Regions from separate parts of the Homo sapiens genome. Here region 2 is linked to region 1. The links are contacts of gene promoters, found by promoter capture Hi-C in human tissues and cell types (Jung and others, 2019). All regions are on one chromosome and are shown on one strand. Each heading gives the region's core, a stretch centred on a gene start or on the middle of the fragment in contact. The rest is flanking DNA. Distances are from core to core; before and after follow the strand shown. Region 1 holds the start of UBR5 (ubiquitin protein ligase E3 component n-recognin 5). Region 2 overlaps NCALD (neurocalcin delta).

Evidence for each region. The method cuts DNA at HindIII sites, captures the fragments that hold promoters and counts their contacts. A contact is called where the count stands out against the background at its distance.
Region 2: a contact is called between a fragment that was not itself captured here and the fragment with the promoter of UBR5 in region 1, in 1 of the 25 tissues and cell types used here (dorsolateral prefrontal cortex).

The regions. Positions count from the first base shown.
Region 1 is chr8:102,408,493-102,415,909 of GRCh38, forward strand. It overlaps UBR5 (ubiquitin protein ligase E3 component n-recognin 5), which reads right to left and starts at 4,208. Exons shown (of 59, transcript NM_015902.6): 1 at 3,681-4,208. The coding sequence starts at 3,742. LOC105375683 (a long non-coding RNA gene) reads left to right here and starts at 3,847. Exons shown (of 5, transcript NR_168428.1): 1 at 3,847-4,519. RefSeq lists enhancers at 2,430-2,489, 2,600-3,378, 3,379-4,157, 4,532-4,801, 5,363-5,472 and 2 more and silencers at 3,572-4,011, 4,072-4,151, 4,182-4,381. The HindIII fragment of the contact is 18,623 bases long and covers 1-7,417 here.
Region 2 is chr8:101,689,801-101,697,217 of GRCh38, forward strand. NCALD (neurocalcin delta) reads right to left here. Exons shown (of 4, transcript NM_032041.3): 3 at 2,991-3,096. Among named protein-coding and RNA genes, the nearest start is that of NCALD, 97 kb to the right of the region's middle. The HindIII fragment of the contact is 3,080 bases long and covers 1,214-4,293 here.

The sequences.
Region 1 (7,417 bases), core at 2,958-5,457:
CCAAAAGGCAAATCTCACAGGAAAATTCCACATACAGACAAGCAATAAGAACTGGTTTGTTTCGTAACTAACCTGCATCTTGAGGAATAATTCAGGACAAGGACAATAAATGCCATAACCACATCACCTTAAGAAGACCTATCCTAACCTAGTACCAAGAAAAGGTTAAGAGCGTCAGCCTCTGAAAAAAAGGCATAAACCCATTAGGAGCCCTGGAAAGAGCAGTTGAGGGGAAAACGGAATCAAAACACTAAGACAGGTGGCCACACTGCCTGAAGGCTGGGATGTCTGAGACAGCAGAACCATTCTGGAATACAAGCCACGTGAAGTGGAATGGAGCCCTGGACTTTAAAGAAAAGTCAGAAGACCCATCAGGTGGACCTCAGCTGTCTCTCAGTAGTTGTATCCCTGCATAAACACTGTAAATCTCTGTGCCTATTTTTTCAGCTCATTAGTGAGGCACTTTCCAGGCTATTAGTGAGGCAGGCCTTTCAGCTCTCCCCTCAAGCTCGACGAACCACATTCTTTATATTGTTTTACTGTTTCTCTGAGACAATGTTTTAAGCAGGAACGTAGTACTAACTCAAGAAATCCATTGGAAAGGAGATCAAAATGTCCAAAGTATCTGAGCACTGAATGGTTTCAATTCAGCTCAATGAATATTTGCTTGAGGGCCCAGCATTCTGTGCCAGGCACCTTGTAATCATTCTGGGAAGTCACAGCCAACATCCTCTTCTTTCCACCCCAGCCATCCCCACCTGTATTTGTCAATTTCATCCTGGCATCATTATTATTCATTATTGGCAAGTCTGAAAACACAAATTATGAAAAAAAGATACTTTTTTATGCTTTGTACATTTTAGACACTTGAGACATCAGACTATGATGCTGAACAAAATATTTGACTTTTTAAGAGGATGTGGGTAAAGAAAGAAAACGTATTTGAAGAAAACACTACTGTTTTGAGGACCAAGTTTTCTTCAGCTGAGCAATTTATTTGCAGTACCATTCTGCCTGTCTAATCTTACTACTTTTATTCCAAAGTATAAAGTCTATTTACACCCTTTTCATACATAACTATGATTATCATTTTATTTGTGACTCTCATACATTTCTCATAATAAAAAAAGTCAAGCTACAGTAGCAGTAGCTTTTTTATTGCCCCAACTTACTAAAACTTGGTAAAGTTTTTATCTTTAGATGAAAATACGCTTATTCTAGTTAATTAAAAGGTTCCAGAAAACCAGTCTCTTTTGGAAACAGATTTTTCTCAAGTGACAGGTTGATCCTATTACAAGTAGGTATGCAAAAAGGAGCCCTCCTTTTGAAAGGGAAACACAGAACAGCTCCTGCCACAAATCAGCTACTTCAAAACTTAGGATATGTGCCTATCTTAAATGCTGCCTTCACAAATCTCAAAAGGCAAGACATGTTTACCGCTACTAGATACAACCATATAGCTCTTTATAATTTCACCTACGGCACCTTTCTATTTTTCAAATATCTGCCACCTTGATGCACATGTTATGACTCAAGTCTACTTTTTTCCTAATTTCATGAAATTAAAAGTCACTATGATCTAAATATTTTTAATGTTGTATAATGATAGAAGAATCAAACAAAGCTGATTGTTTATACTAGGAATGGAAAAAGAAGAGTTAGCATTTAAAAAGATACATTACTTGTAAATTTCTCAAATAGCTGAAGCAAAAGGAATGCTCAAAAATGAATCAAAGTGCCCAACACAACCGCAAAATAGGTTTTGGCATGCACAGCCAACTGAGTAAGCTAGTCAGGTTTCTTGGTACATAAAGTTAGGACTAATATAGAAAACATGCCCTACCTCTCTTCTCTCTGGTGCGGTTTTCTAAGTAACAAGACAAGCACTACCAACATGGTTCTGTTAATGACCGTAGAGCTATCCTCACTACTAGCCTGTTTCTAAATTTTACCAAAAAATTTTATGTTAATGTCTCCAAAAGATCTTTAATGAAGTAAAGTCAGGCTAAGAACCACATAACAAAATGTTAAATAACTAAAAAGTTATTTCAGAATTTAAAGGAACTATGTGACAACTCTGAGTAGTTAGTATTTTCAGTAAGTATTTCAAAAGATTCCCAAACATGTTAAATACAATATGGCTACAGCAAAGATTAGGCAAATCCGAACCAAGTGCAGAAACTAAACCGCCAGCTCTGGATTTAAAAGCTGTCTGCTCCACTTGAGGCGGTTAGATACACTGACACAAGAGGCCAGTATCTCAGCAGCAAGTTAGGCCTCTTCCTCCCTCTGGGAAGCGCATGACAAACAGGGCATCATGCAACTTAAGTCACCCGGTCACTTAGCAAAAATTCTATGTAACTTCTAAACTTGGGACCAGATGGCCTTCTATACGCAAAAGAAATGTAGAGAGCAGTGAAGTACTGGGAGAGAGGAAGACTTAAAATGCTCCACTTTGTGATCCTGTAAACATTTAGCCCATCATTAGATCTGAGTCTTAGATTCTAAGACATGCTTTAATGGAGGCCTCCCTCAACCTCCTGAGTCTGTTTTCCAACAGTGAAGGAACTTTTCCTGCCTTATCTCAGTTCCCTGAGAGCATGCGGCACTGCAATTCAATATCCTAAACTGGCAAGGAACGGTGGCGGAAGAAAAGGAGAAATCCAAACCAAAACAGCCTATAAAAGACAAAACATAAAATAAAATCATAATTCATCCTCCGCCCATAGCAAACCCAACCCAGAAATTTACAGCGTGTTAAGAAAAGCAGCATTGCGAACTGCAAACGTAAGAGTTTTCCTTTGACACTCTACGCACGGTTTTCAGCTGTCAAATTACAACTCAGGAAAACACTATCATTAGAATAGAAAAGGAAACAAAAAAGCTCGCACCACAGGGGCTAGTAGCAGGAGCTGCCAGCACCATTTCAGGAGGAGAGTAAAGGGAATCCAATGCACTTCCCCACCCCCGCTTGAATCCATCCCCTCCCGGGGCAGGCAAACCTCACTGCAGGGGCTCAAATTTAATAATAATAACAATAATCATGGCGCTTCCTCCCTCACTCCCTCCCCCAACTATCACCTTCCCCCCACCCCCCGCCCGCTCCCAGCAATCTGCCGGGAATCGGCTTCTCTCCCCAACCCGACCCCGGGATCCCCAGGTCCAGACCACCCCACCGGACACAGCTGCCGGGGGCCCGGGACAAGCCCAGCCCAGCCCACCCCGGGGCCCCTGGCCCCGCTTCTCCTCTTCCCTCTCTTTTTACCTCCACCATCCCCCATCCGCATTGTCTGTCTCAATTCAACTTTGACTAATATGGATTCCTCGGGCCTTGGCCGGGCAGTAATTACCGCCTGCCCCCCGGGAGCCAGAAACCACCCCCCCATCTCCGCCGAGTTCAACGCCGCTCCTTGCGGGAGGGGGAAGGGGGTTTACAGAGCGCTCTCCAGTCTACACCGCGAGTCCCGTCTACACCGCGCTCCCCCCGCGGCCCCCTGCCCCCGGGATGAGAAGTTTGCCCCGGAAGGAGCCTAGCAGGAGGCAGTAAGGACCCCCGCACCCCACCCCAGCTGGCCGGCCGGCGCGTAAACACCCGCACCCGCCCGGCACGGCCCGTGGGGGAGGGGAGGGAGGGAAGGGCGCCCCTCCCCCCGCGCCCGCCGACCCGCCAGCCCTATTACCTGTCATTGAGCTGGTCCTCGGTGCCCGGCAGCGGGTGAACCACGAAATGGATGGACGTCATGGTGCTTTCCTTCTCGTCCTCCACTCGAGGGCGGCCCCCTCCCGCTCTCGCCCGCCCCCCAGCCCTCTACCCCTCCCCAAAACCCACAGCCGCCGCCGCCTCCCAGTCCCCAAATGGAGGGAAGCAAATACGCAGGGGCCGCCGCCGCCTCCCTGCCGGGCGTGTGTCCGCGGCCCGGAGGGGCGGGCAGGAGGGCGAATCCACACGCCACCCGCTCCCCCGGCGACAGCGCGGAGTGCGAGGCAGGCGGCCGGGACCAGGGGCGCGCCGCCGGCCAGCGGCAGACGGGCGTTGGGAGAGGGGCGGCCGGGGGAGGAGAGGGGCGGCTGCTGGCTGCGGGCTACGGGGACGGTCTGGTCCCGGCGGCGGACGGGGTCCGGACTAGGGGAGGTGAGGAAGGAGGGGAAGGAGATGAGCCCGCACCGCGCGTCACTAGCGAGAAGCTGCCGCCGCCATCTTCACTTCTGCCCCAGTTTCTCCGTCTCGCAGGCTCCGCTCCGGAGCGGCGGGGGAGGGGCAAACGGGAGGAGGAGGAGGGAGGAGACCGGCGGGCGGGGGCGCGGCGGCGAGAGGCGGGGCTCCGGGAAACGGGCGGCAAGGCCCCCTCGATTGGGCTGCTCAACGTTGTCGGGCCACGACGCTGTAAGGCGCGTGCCGATTGGTCCGTTCGGCTCCCGAGCCCAGCCCCGCCGGGGGTGGGATGTCTCCAGAGTGAGTGTTCCGGAGAGCACGTGTTAGGGAAGGAGGAGGCTGCGGGCTAACCTGCCGGGAGGGAGGGTAAGTGTGTGTCCCAGAGGAGGCGAGGAGGAAGAGGGGCTCTTGTGTTCTTTCGCTCGGATTCCCCTGGGGCAGCCCTAATTATTTGGCGGATCCTTAGGGGTTTCTTGTTGCTTCTCATCCTTCATCCGCAGTTGTATTTATGGTGAAGTTGGTAAAATCAGTTAAGGGGCAAGACATATACAGCCTTTTATTGGAAAAGTAAGGAAATTATGTAAGGGCCTTTCCAGAAGGAGATAGTAGGATCCTGGAGTTGGCTTTGCAGCAACTTCTATTACCTCGGTCTCCCCAGTTTCCTCACCACCATCACATGCCCAAAGACAAAATGTGGAAATTTCCACTAATTTCCTGATATAAATGATTCGTGATTTTTTATTACTTTTAAATGAAAGATGATAAACCTGTTCTACAAAGGAGTTCAATTTATGATCAGTGGAATCAGAACGGAAAATTATTATTTTTTTTTTTTTTTTCCCCGAGACGGAGTTTCGCTCTTGTTGCCCAGGCTGGAGTGCAATGGCGCGGTCTCGGCTCACCTCAACCTCCGCCTCCCGGGTTCAAGCGATTTTCCTGTCTCAGTCTATGGAGTAGCTGGGATTACAGGCATGTGTCACCACGTCCGGCTAATTTTGTATTTCTTTTTTAGTAGAGATGTGGTTTCACCATGTTGGCCAGGCTGGTCTCGAACTCCTGACCTCAGGTGATCCACCCGCCTCGGCCTCCCAAAGTGCTGGGATTACAGGCCTGAGCCACCACGCCTGGCCGAGATAGGATCTTTTATACCGAGTTTCTACTATAAGACACTTTCAGAGTTTTGGCCACGGCGCACAGTGGCTCACGCCTGTAATCCCAGCACTTTGGAAGGCCGAGGATGTCGGATCACCTGAGGTTGGGAGTTCGAGACCAGCCTAGCCAACTTGGTGAAACCCCATCTCTACTAAAAATGCAAAAATTAGCCAGGCATGGCTGTGCGCGCCTGTAAACCCCACTACTCAGGAAGCTGAGGCAGAAGACTTGCTTGAACCTGGCAAGTTGCAGTGAGCTGAGATCATGCCACTGCACTCCAGCCCGGGCAACAGAACGAGACTCCATCTCAAAAAAAAATTTTTTTTAATCAAATAAGTCTGTTTTTTTTTCCCTAAGGAACCAATTCATGACTTTCTTCTCAAAGGTTTCTATGACCTCCTTTAAAAAATAAAGTACCTCTTCGAAGGCAAAAACTGAGAACATGACATTCCTTCTACAGAGGTGGTCTGTTAATGAATTACACACACACACACACAGTTTTGCTTAGGAAGTTCTTCTGAGCAAAATTTATGAAAAAATACTTACAAATCAGGACAGACCTGGTACCCTCAAGGCAGATAATGGAACACTTTTGTAGGTTACCAGCTCAACCATTGGCCCAGATTAGTTTAGACTAAAAAGTGATTTCAAGGTCACTATTAGATGTCCCTGGGAGCCCTGAGGAAGGAAGGTAGACCAGTAGACACTGCTAGATTTCAAGCCAAACAGATCTAAAAAAAATTTTTTTTTTTTGAGACGGAGTCTTTGCTCTGTCGCCCAGGCTGGAGTGCAATGGCACGATCTTGGCTCACTGCCACCTCCGCCTCCTGGGTTCAAGTGATTCTCCTGCCTCAGCCTCCCGAGTAGCTGGGATTACAGGCGCTGCCACCATGCCTGGGTAATTTTTGTATTTTTAGTAGAGACAAGGTTTCACCATGTTGGCCAGGTTGGTCTCGAACTCCTGACCTCAGGTGATCCACCCACCTCGGCCTCCCAAAGTGTTGGGATTACAGGCGTGAGCCACTGCGCCCAGCCCAGATCTAAATTTCAGTTGTTTCTGCTACTTAACTACGTGGCCTTACTTGGATTTAGATTAGTTAGATTTGGCCGGGTGCACTGGCTCACGCCCATAATCCCAGCACTTTGGGAGGCCGAGGTGGGTGGATCACCTGAGGTCAGGAGTTTGAGACCAGCCTGGCCAACATGGTGAAACCCTGTCTCTACTAAAAATACAAAAATTAGCCAGGAGTGTTGGTGTGGCTGTAGTCCCAGCTACTCCAGAGGCTGAGGCAGGAGAATTGCTTGCTCGAACCCGGGAGGTGGAGGTTGCAGTGAGCCAAGATTGTGCCACTGCACTCCAGCCTGGGCGACAGAATGAGAATCTGTCTTAAAAAAAAATTAGTTAGATTTAACCTATCATTGCATCTTTTTTCCTCATTTGTTAAATATTCCATACTAATAGATCTATCTACACAGAGTTGCAGTGAGATCTAAATAAGATAATGTATGTCAGACACCTAGGACAGTTCATATACATAGTAGGCTCAGCAAATGGAAACATTTACTTGTCTGGTGCTATGTTCCAGTTTTTTTTTTTGTTTTTGTTTTTGTTTTTGTTTTTTTGAGGCAGGATTTCACTCCCATCACCCAGGCTGGAGTGCAGTGACATGGCCTCGGCTCACTGCAACCTCCACCTAGCAGGCTCAAGCAATTCTCCTGCACTGGCCTCCCGAGTAGCTGGGTCTACAGGCACAGGCTACCACGCCTGGCTAATTTTTGTATTTTTTGTAAAGGCGGGGTTTTGCCATGTTGCTCAGGCTGGTCTTGATCTCCTGGGCTCAAGCGATCGACCCACCTCGGCCTCCCATCTATGTTCAACTTTTACACCTTATACCTTTTAATACTTGAATCACACTATAGGGTAAATTATAATATCCCTGTTATCTAGATGAGGACACTGGGGCTCAAACACCTGAGGTAAGGACTGAAGCTGATACTGAAACCCCGGTCTTCTGACTTGGATTCCATTGTTCTTTCCACTATACCACTGCTGCCATCTAGAAGTTAATAATTTAGAAGGAACAGACTATTCAAAGCCAATAGAGAAAAAAA
Region 2 (7,417 bases), core at 1,504-4,003, 720 kb before region 1:
AGCTGGGCCCTGGCAGCACCCGGTTGGTTCCCATAATGTTCCCTGGAGCCTTCTGAGCCACTTCGTGTTCTTCAGGCCACTCTGTGTTCTTAGGTTTGCTGCAAGAGCCCATCCTATCTTGGGGAAGAAGCCGTGGACGTAAGTGTTTGTTCATACACCACGGGAAGACAGCTGTGCCTCCATCTGAGGTCAGGGAAGAGCAGGGTATGTTCAAGGCAGAGGGTAACCCATGGGTTTCTGCCTCTCAGTTAGGGTGCTCTCCTGCTACCCTGATGTGCTGGAGGAGGGAGGCTCAGCAGCCTGGGCTCCCACTCCGACCCCGGTGACCTTTCCTTTCTGCTTACTCTGGAGCACGTACAGAATTCTCTTCCAGGAAGGCCTGTCACTTGTGGAGAGGAGGGGAGGGGGTGGGGTAGGAGTTGGGGGACTGCAAGGCTTTTCCCATTCCTGGTGCTTCCAGAAGGACCCTTCCTCTTTGTCTACCCCGCCCCTGGGAGTGAAGTGACATGCTCGATTGGTAAATTTGGGAGGAATTGCTGGGCATCTCCGCCCAGCTTTGCCCTCCCTTTTTCTCTTGAAAGGAGCTGCCCCAGAGAGGATTTATTTCCATCTGCTCCTCCAAGGGCAGCACCCGGCCTGCCTGGCTCTGCACGCCTGTGGGTTTTTCAGCACGTCCTTGGACTCTCACGCTAAGCCATAGCCTCCAGTATCTATCTTTTGACCTCTGTCCTCTTTTATTTCTCAACTTACTCCAAACCTGACAGGAGGGGGCCTCCCCCAACAGAAACACCAACAAACATATCTTCTCCTCAGCCACAACTCCCTCCCCGCCAGAACCTAGTTCTTGTTTAATGAAACCCACTTTATCTCCATGAAGGAAAAAGATAGGGATGCATTTATTAATTTATTTTTAATTTGTAGAGCTGATCCCCTCCAAGCTCTGTGTGCTGGCCATTTTTTATGAGCCCAGCCCTGCCCACATAGTAGTTACAATGGTAATGACTTCCTCCAGCTTGGCAAGGCATGAGGGAAGGGAGACAGGCGTGATCTCTGAACACTTTGCAGTCTCTCAGGGGTCGGCTCTGGGAGGCACCAGCTGGAGGTAGCAGGGGCAGACCTGGAGCTCGGCATGACGTCTGGCTTTCTTCACTTAACTGTCTGCATGATTCAGAGTTGGCTCCTAGGAGAACTTGCCTGAGGGCCCAGATTTTTCTTTTCAAATCGGAGGCCAGAAGTTAGATTCCAAGAGCAACAGGCAAGCTAAATCTAAGGGTAGGAGACTCTAGGTGAGGACTGCTCTGCTCTCGGCAGGGAGGGGTGCAGGTGTCCTCAATCCTGGGGTCCAGCAGCCAAGCACTGAGCTGAAGCACCCAGTCTCCTGGTTGAGCTAAGATTCCTCTGACAGCTGTGAACTTACAGCCCCTCTTCCTCCTTCCTTCTACAGCTCCCACCCCCCTCTCCCAACCCTAACCTTTGAAAATTTAATTTAATTTTAAACATGAGGTTTTCCTTTGGAAAGGCACAGGTCTTTAGCAGTAAGTTGTGCTCTGAGAATGCTAACTCAGTCAGGGCTCTGCAATCCCATAGCAGCAGAGTCCCAGTGGAAAGACCCTAATTCATTGCCTGTGATCAACACACAGTTAGGGCTTTAGGGCTTTATCCTGTGACATCTGATCTTCTCCCATCCTTCAGCCCTATCCTGAAGAGCTGTCTGGACCTAGAGCACAGCACAAACCCATTGTGCTCCCTTGAGTACCAGTAAAACCTGCAGTTTAACATCAGCAAGTTAATTAACTATTAAAATAATCCCGTGCTTGTTTAGTCACAACTATTCATTGTGAATCAAAGCAAATAAGGGGACATAGGATGTTTCCAAATGGAATGGCACCTTTGTGGAGGAAACAAGCAAGCAGACAGGCCCATACCACACAAACCCAGATTCTTAGGCAGCTGTACCTGGGCGGGGGATAAAAGGAGACAGAGGCTCTCTGTACTGCGAAGCCGCCTTCTGCTGTTCTATAGATCAGCGCCAGGTGGGGGACCCAAGTGCCTGTGCACATGGTTGACAAGAATTGCCGAGGCCTCTGAACAGATCGGGTGAGCTGATAATAACAGCAAGAGCTACAGAGCCGGGCCCTGAGCTGAGCTCTTTAAACTCAAGTATAACATTTAAATAGGGTTGCCAGATCTGGCAAATTAAATACATGATGCCCCGTTAACTTTGAATTTCAGATAAACAGCAAGTGACTTTTTTAGTTGGCTAAACAATTGTTAGGCTAATCCTAACAACTGTTGCTGTTTATCTGAAATTCCAGGATAATTGGGCCTCCTGTATTCTATCTGGCAATTTAAGATCTAAAATCCTTCTGTTCTTAAGTTGGAAATGCAACCTTCTTTTTCACTTCGTTGGGTTTGAATTGTGGGTAGCACCATCAGGGTGGGAACCTGCTGGGCACCTTACTCCCTCACCACTACCCCGGGCACCCCAGTGACTATGGGAGCCCACTGTCTCTGGGAAACACAACATCTCAGTGCATGCACAGGAGACCCCAACAAAACCCCTTTGGCAGGCTGGAGTGAAAGCTGTCGGCATCTGGGTAGGATCACAGAATAACAACCCTCTCCCCATTTTGATGAACTGGACTGCAGGGACCCAGCCTGCTATAGCCTAGGCCTGTCCCAAGGATGGGTCTGTGCTAACAATGGTTTCTTGGTTCCTTTCATTCTTGCCCCACAAGATCCATTCTGTTTTCTTGGAGGTAGAAGTTGACCTACAAGGAGGATAGAAAAAACTAGAAATAAGGCATTTCCCCCAATTCTGGGCTCAGCTCTCCTGTGGCCACCTGGTCCTCTCCCCTCCTACCCACCCAGGAGGCTTGGAGGATGAGCCGCTCACATTGAAGGGCCTCGAGTGGCACTTCCCAGTCTGGACTCTCCAGTCCTTCCAGCAGCCCCCATCTGAGCAAAGCAGTGTAGCCCCCGCCTCCTACCGTCTCTATTGGTGTCCATCTGGCGGAAGATCTTTTCTGTTCTTTTCTCTGGGGTTGACTCATCTTCAGGCATTTTCATTACAGAGGAAACCATCTTATAGATTGCCTGGGGACAGAAGCGACATGGTGGTAAGACAGAAAAACAGTATGGCACACAATAGACCTATCATTAAACCTCCCAAATGCGGGCTGAAGGGAATGTCCCCATCCGCATTGGACCTAGTCCTACCCCTATTGATTGGTATAAGATGTGGAGGCACAGGTAGAAGAAGCCGGGCCCACAAAGCTTGTTCTCCTCCAGTGAGGACCTTCAGGAGGGACAACCAGCAGGAAGACCCAGTAGACCCCTGTGTCTCCAATGTTTTTTGATTGTTTTTTGAGACAGGGTCTCATTCTGTCACCCAGGCTGGAGTGTAGTGGCACGCTTACGGCTCACTGCAGGCTCCATTTCATAGGCTCAAGCAATCCTCCCACCTCAGTCTCCTGAGCAGCAGCTGGGACTAGAGGTACTCCCCACCACACAGGGCGTTTTTTTTTTTTTTTTTTTTTTTTTTTTTTTTTCTGTACAGACAAGGTCTCATTATGTTGCCCAAGCTGGTCTCGAACTCCTGGGCTCAAGCTTCTCCTCCCTCAGCCTCCCAAAGTGCTGGGATTACAGACATGCGCCACCTCTCCTAGCCGTCTCCATTGTTTATGTGCATACAAATCCCCTGGGAATCTTGTTAAAATGCAGAATCTGATTGGGTAGTGTGGGGGAAAGGGGTGGGGCTGAGAGTCTGTATTTTTAATAAGCTCCGGTGTGATGCTGATGCTGCTGTTCTGAAGACGCTGCTTTGAAAAGCAAGGTTCCCACTTTGAGGAGCAAGGCTGCAGATGACATTCTTCAGGCTAGAGAGGCAAGTGGATGCCTATCATGGACCCTTGAGAGTCCACAATGACTCCTCAAGGATGACAGACATGTAACACTCTGTAAGTGCATGCCACATGTTTCCCCAGGCAGACTTCTAGTCCATTCCAGTGCTTTTCTCCCTGTGTGTGACAATGGTCTCAAGTTCCTTCTCAGCAAGCTTCCAGGCAGTCCTGAGATGGAAACCACCTGCCATCAGAGCTCTGAATTATTATGCATCCTCAGGCCTGAGCTAAACTGGGTACAGCTATGAGATCTGATGGGCGAAAGAGGATTCTGTGGAGTTTTGTAAGCACTACTGAAACTATCACCCCATGCCTGTGACCTCCACATGGGACTCAGTAAGGGCCCTTTGACCTCTGTGGTCAAAGGTAGTTTTTATTTGGGAAGAGGAATGAAAAGTCATTGTTTTTATCCCCAGATCATGACTTTGCTAATCAGAGTCACTTTGGGCATCTTGGCCCTGGGGACAATTTTTAGAAAAAATAGATTTTGCCAGGGAGTAGGCAGAAAATTTCAGAGAGTTCTGGAGCTCTAGGGGCAGCAAGGCAGGTGCAGAGGACAGAGAAAGGAAAGCAGCTGAGGGGAGTCGCCTCCAAATGGGAAAGGTGAGAGCAGAAAAAGACACTGAAGCTTCACCTGAGCTGCTTTACAGTCTTGCTCAGGACCAACCCTGCCAGAAGTTCCTAACATGTTCTGGATAAGGTAGGGTAAGTACTCTAATCTCAGTCAAAATAAGAATGAAAACAGACTCACCCAGTGTGCTGGCCCTTAGGCTGATCCCATCCCTCAGGGATGCTTCTGGACAGGCTCCCTGAGTCTGTCTCAAACCCACCCAATGTGCTTACTGAACTCCATAGCTGACTCTGCAGCGACTTGGTCTGGGAGGTAAAGCGCAGAGTTAGGGTGCTGTCTAGGATTATGGGTGTCCCTGGGGTAAGCTGAGCCATTTCATTCCCAAGAAATGCTCACTGAAGTGTGCTCTGGAGACAAGAGGGGAGCCATCGTCTGCCCTCCTCATCATGGTCCCCTGCCTGCTGTCATCCCAGCCCAGGTCTGCTCCACCAACTGTGCTGGGGCTGTAGTGCCATGTGCCTCACTGCCGGGGACACGTAAGTTCTTGGGGGAGCTAGGAAAGGCCGGAGAGATGGAGCTGTTTTTGCAAATGGGAGAAGAGAGGCCCTGAGATTTAACACGCCCAGGTGAATATTTAGTAACAGTAGACAGCAGGTGTCTTTTCACACCAGCAAAAGTCTTGAGGTCTAGCAACCTCTCCCCAGCTTGCTTTGCTCCCACAGTGGAAGCTTTTCGTAACTCTTGACATAGTCAAAATGGAATCGGCACCAACTATGAAAACATGCACACCCCTCACATACATTTCAAGCTCATATGATCTAAATATTTGGTGAATTCATAAGCCCAGGAATCTTAGGACAACAATAACACAACATTTAGAAATTGGCATCCCTGCAGATCACATTAGCACAACCTCCTTAAAGGAGAGCGCATGGAGCTGTTTCAGGAGTTGCAGAGGTGTTGCGGGGAAGAGCACTTACAGACAAGGGATAAGTTTATTTTTGCCAGAAGTTTTAAGGGGGCTGTGTATTTATTCATTATCAATCTTCTTTGGGGCTGGATTGTTCCTTCTCCAAGTCTGTTCTGGCCTCAGTAAGTTTGTCTCACGTGGTCCTTCTAGATGCCACTGGCTTTGTGCCTGTGACTGGCCATAGGAGGTGTCTCCCAGCTCAGATGCTCCACAAAGGCTGTTGTCAAGAGTCTGACAACATGATACGCTCCTTGGTGTCCTGGACCAGCAGCTTTGTTTATATTCTTCTCTCACCTGAGTGCTCACCTACCCCATCTCCCCTCCTCCTTGGACTCTTACCCATGTGTTAAGAGCAGATCAAAATGTTACCCTCCTCCAGGAAGCCTTCCATCATCTTCCCTTCTTCTATTGCTATGTGCAATCTCCCTCCCTCTGTGCTAGCAAGGGGCTCCAACCCAACCTCTCTCATATCACTTCCTTCCATTTACCTTGAATTCACACCCAGAATGTTCTCCTTTTAGATGTGAGGGTAGCAGTCACATCTATTTTTTGAATCCCTGATAGTACCTAACATAGGGTCTTGAATACAGTCAACTTCACTTAGTTTAAAGAATTTATTCAGGAATAACTGTCCCCCAGTTGCCCTCTCATTCTTTCCCTCTCTCACCTTTATTCTGCACTGCTCCAATTTATAAAGTTCCCCTTTATCCTTTTATATGTTTTTTTTAGTTTCCTCTTTTCTTTTTCTTCTCTCTCTCTTCACATAATTAAACATATTCATGTGAAACCCCTTAAAGACTTAATCTGTCAAAAGATTTGAGCTTTTCCCTTAGAAACCATGCAAACCCACCCACCATTGCAGACGATCTCAGAGGTTTGGGTATTTAGAAGCTGATCCATAGACCCCAGGTCATGGAAATCCCTGCTCTTAGGTGACTGCCTCTTCATCCATCCACTCACTCAGTCATTCATCAAATATGTATAAGCAACTAATGTGTACCAGGTATTGACATTGACCTAATCCTTTCCCTCATGGTTTTTGCTGTGAAATAAGGCAGACATTAGTAAAATAAAGAAATACATGTAAAACCATTGTTGAGAAAAGTGCTAGAAAGAAGAGTGCATGGCTTCTGTGATGATATAGTGGGAGAGTTAGGTTTTGCCAGGAGGGTTAGGGTAGGCTTCTCTGAGGAATGATGATTGCACAAAGACGTGAAGAAAGCATAGGGCTTAAATAAATCAGGGGTGAGCAAAACACCATGTGGAAGCCCAGAGTGGGAGCGTGGCAAGGAGGTCAACAGAGTGTGGGGGCGTTCAGTACACAATGTGGCTCTAGAGCAAGCAGGGAAAGACCACTGAGGCCTCACAGTGTTTAGGGATCTGTATTTCTCCAACGAGCAACAAAAGATGGAAGTGACATTAAATTTGATTTTCCTATTCACATTCATTTCCCAAATTTACCTCTCTTCCCTTCCTTACTTGCAGTCAGTGGTGTTCAGAGAATTGAAAAGTAGTCATTTGCAACATACCAGAATCTCTGGGAGACAGCTAAAGCTGTGTTAAGAGGGAAATTTATAGCACTAAATGCCCACATCAGAAAGCTAGAAGGATCTCAAATCGCCACTCTAACATCACAATTAAAAGAGCTAGGGAAGCAAGAGCAAACAAATCCAAAAGCTAGCAGAAGAGAAGAAATAACTAAGATTAGAGCAGAACAGAAGGAAACAGAGACACAAAAAACCCTTCAAAAATCAATGAATCCAGGAGCTGTTTTTTTGAAAAAATTAACAAAATAGACCACTAGCTAGACTAATAAAGAAGAAAAGAGAGAATAATCAAATAGACACAATAAAAAATGATAAAGGGTATATCACCACCGACACCACAGAAATATAAACTATCATCAGAGAATACTATAAACATCTCTATGCAAATAAACGGGAAAATCTAGAAGAAATGTATAAATTCCTGGAC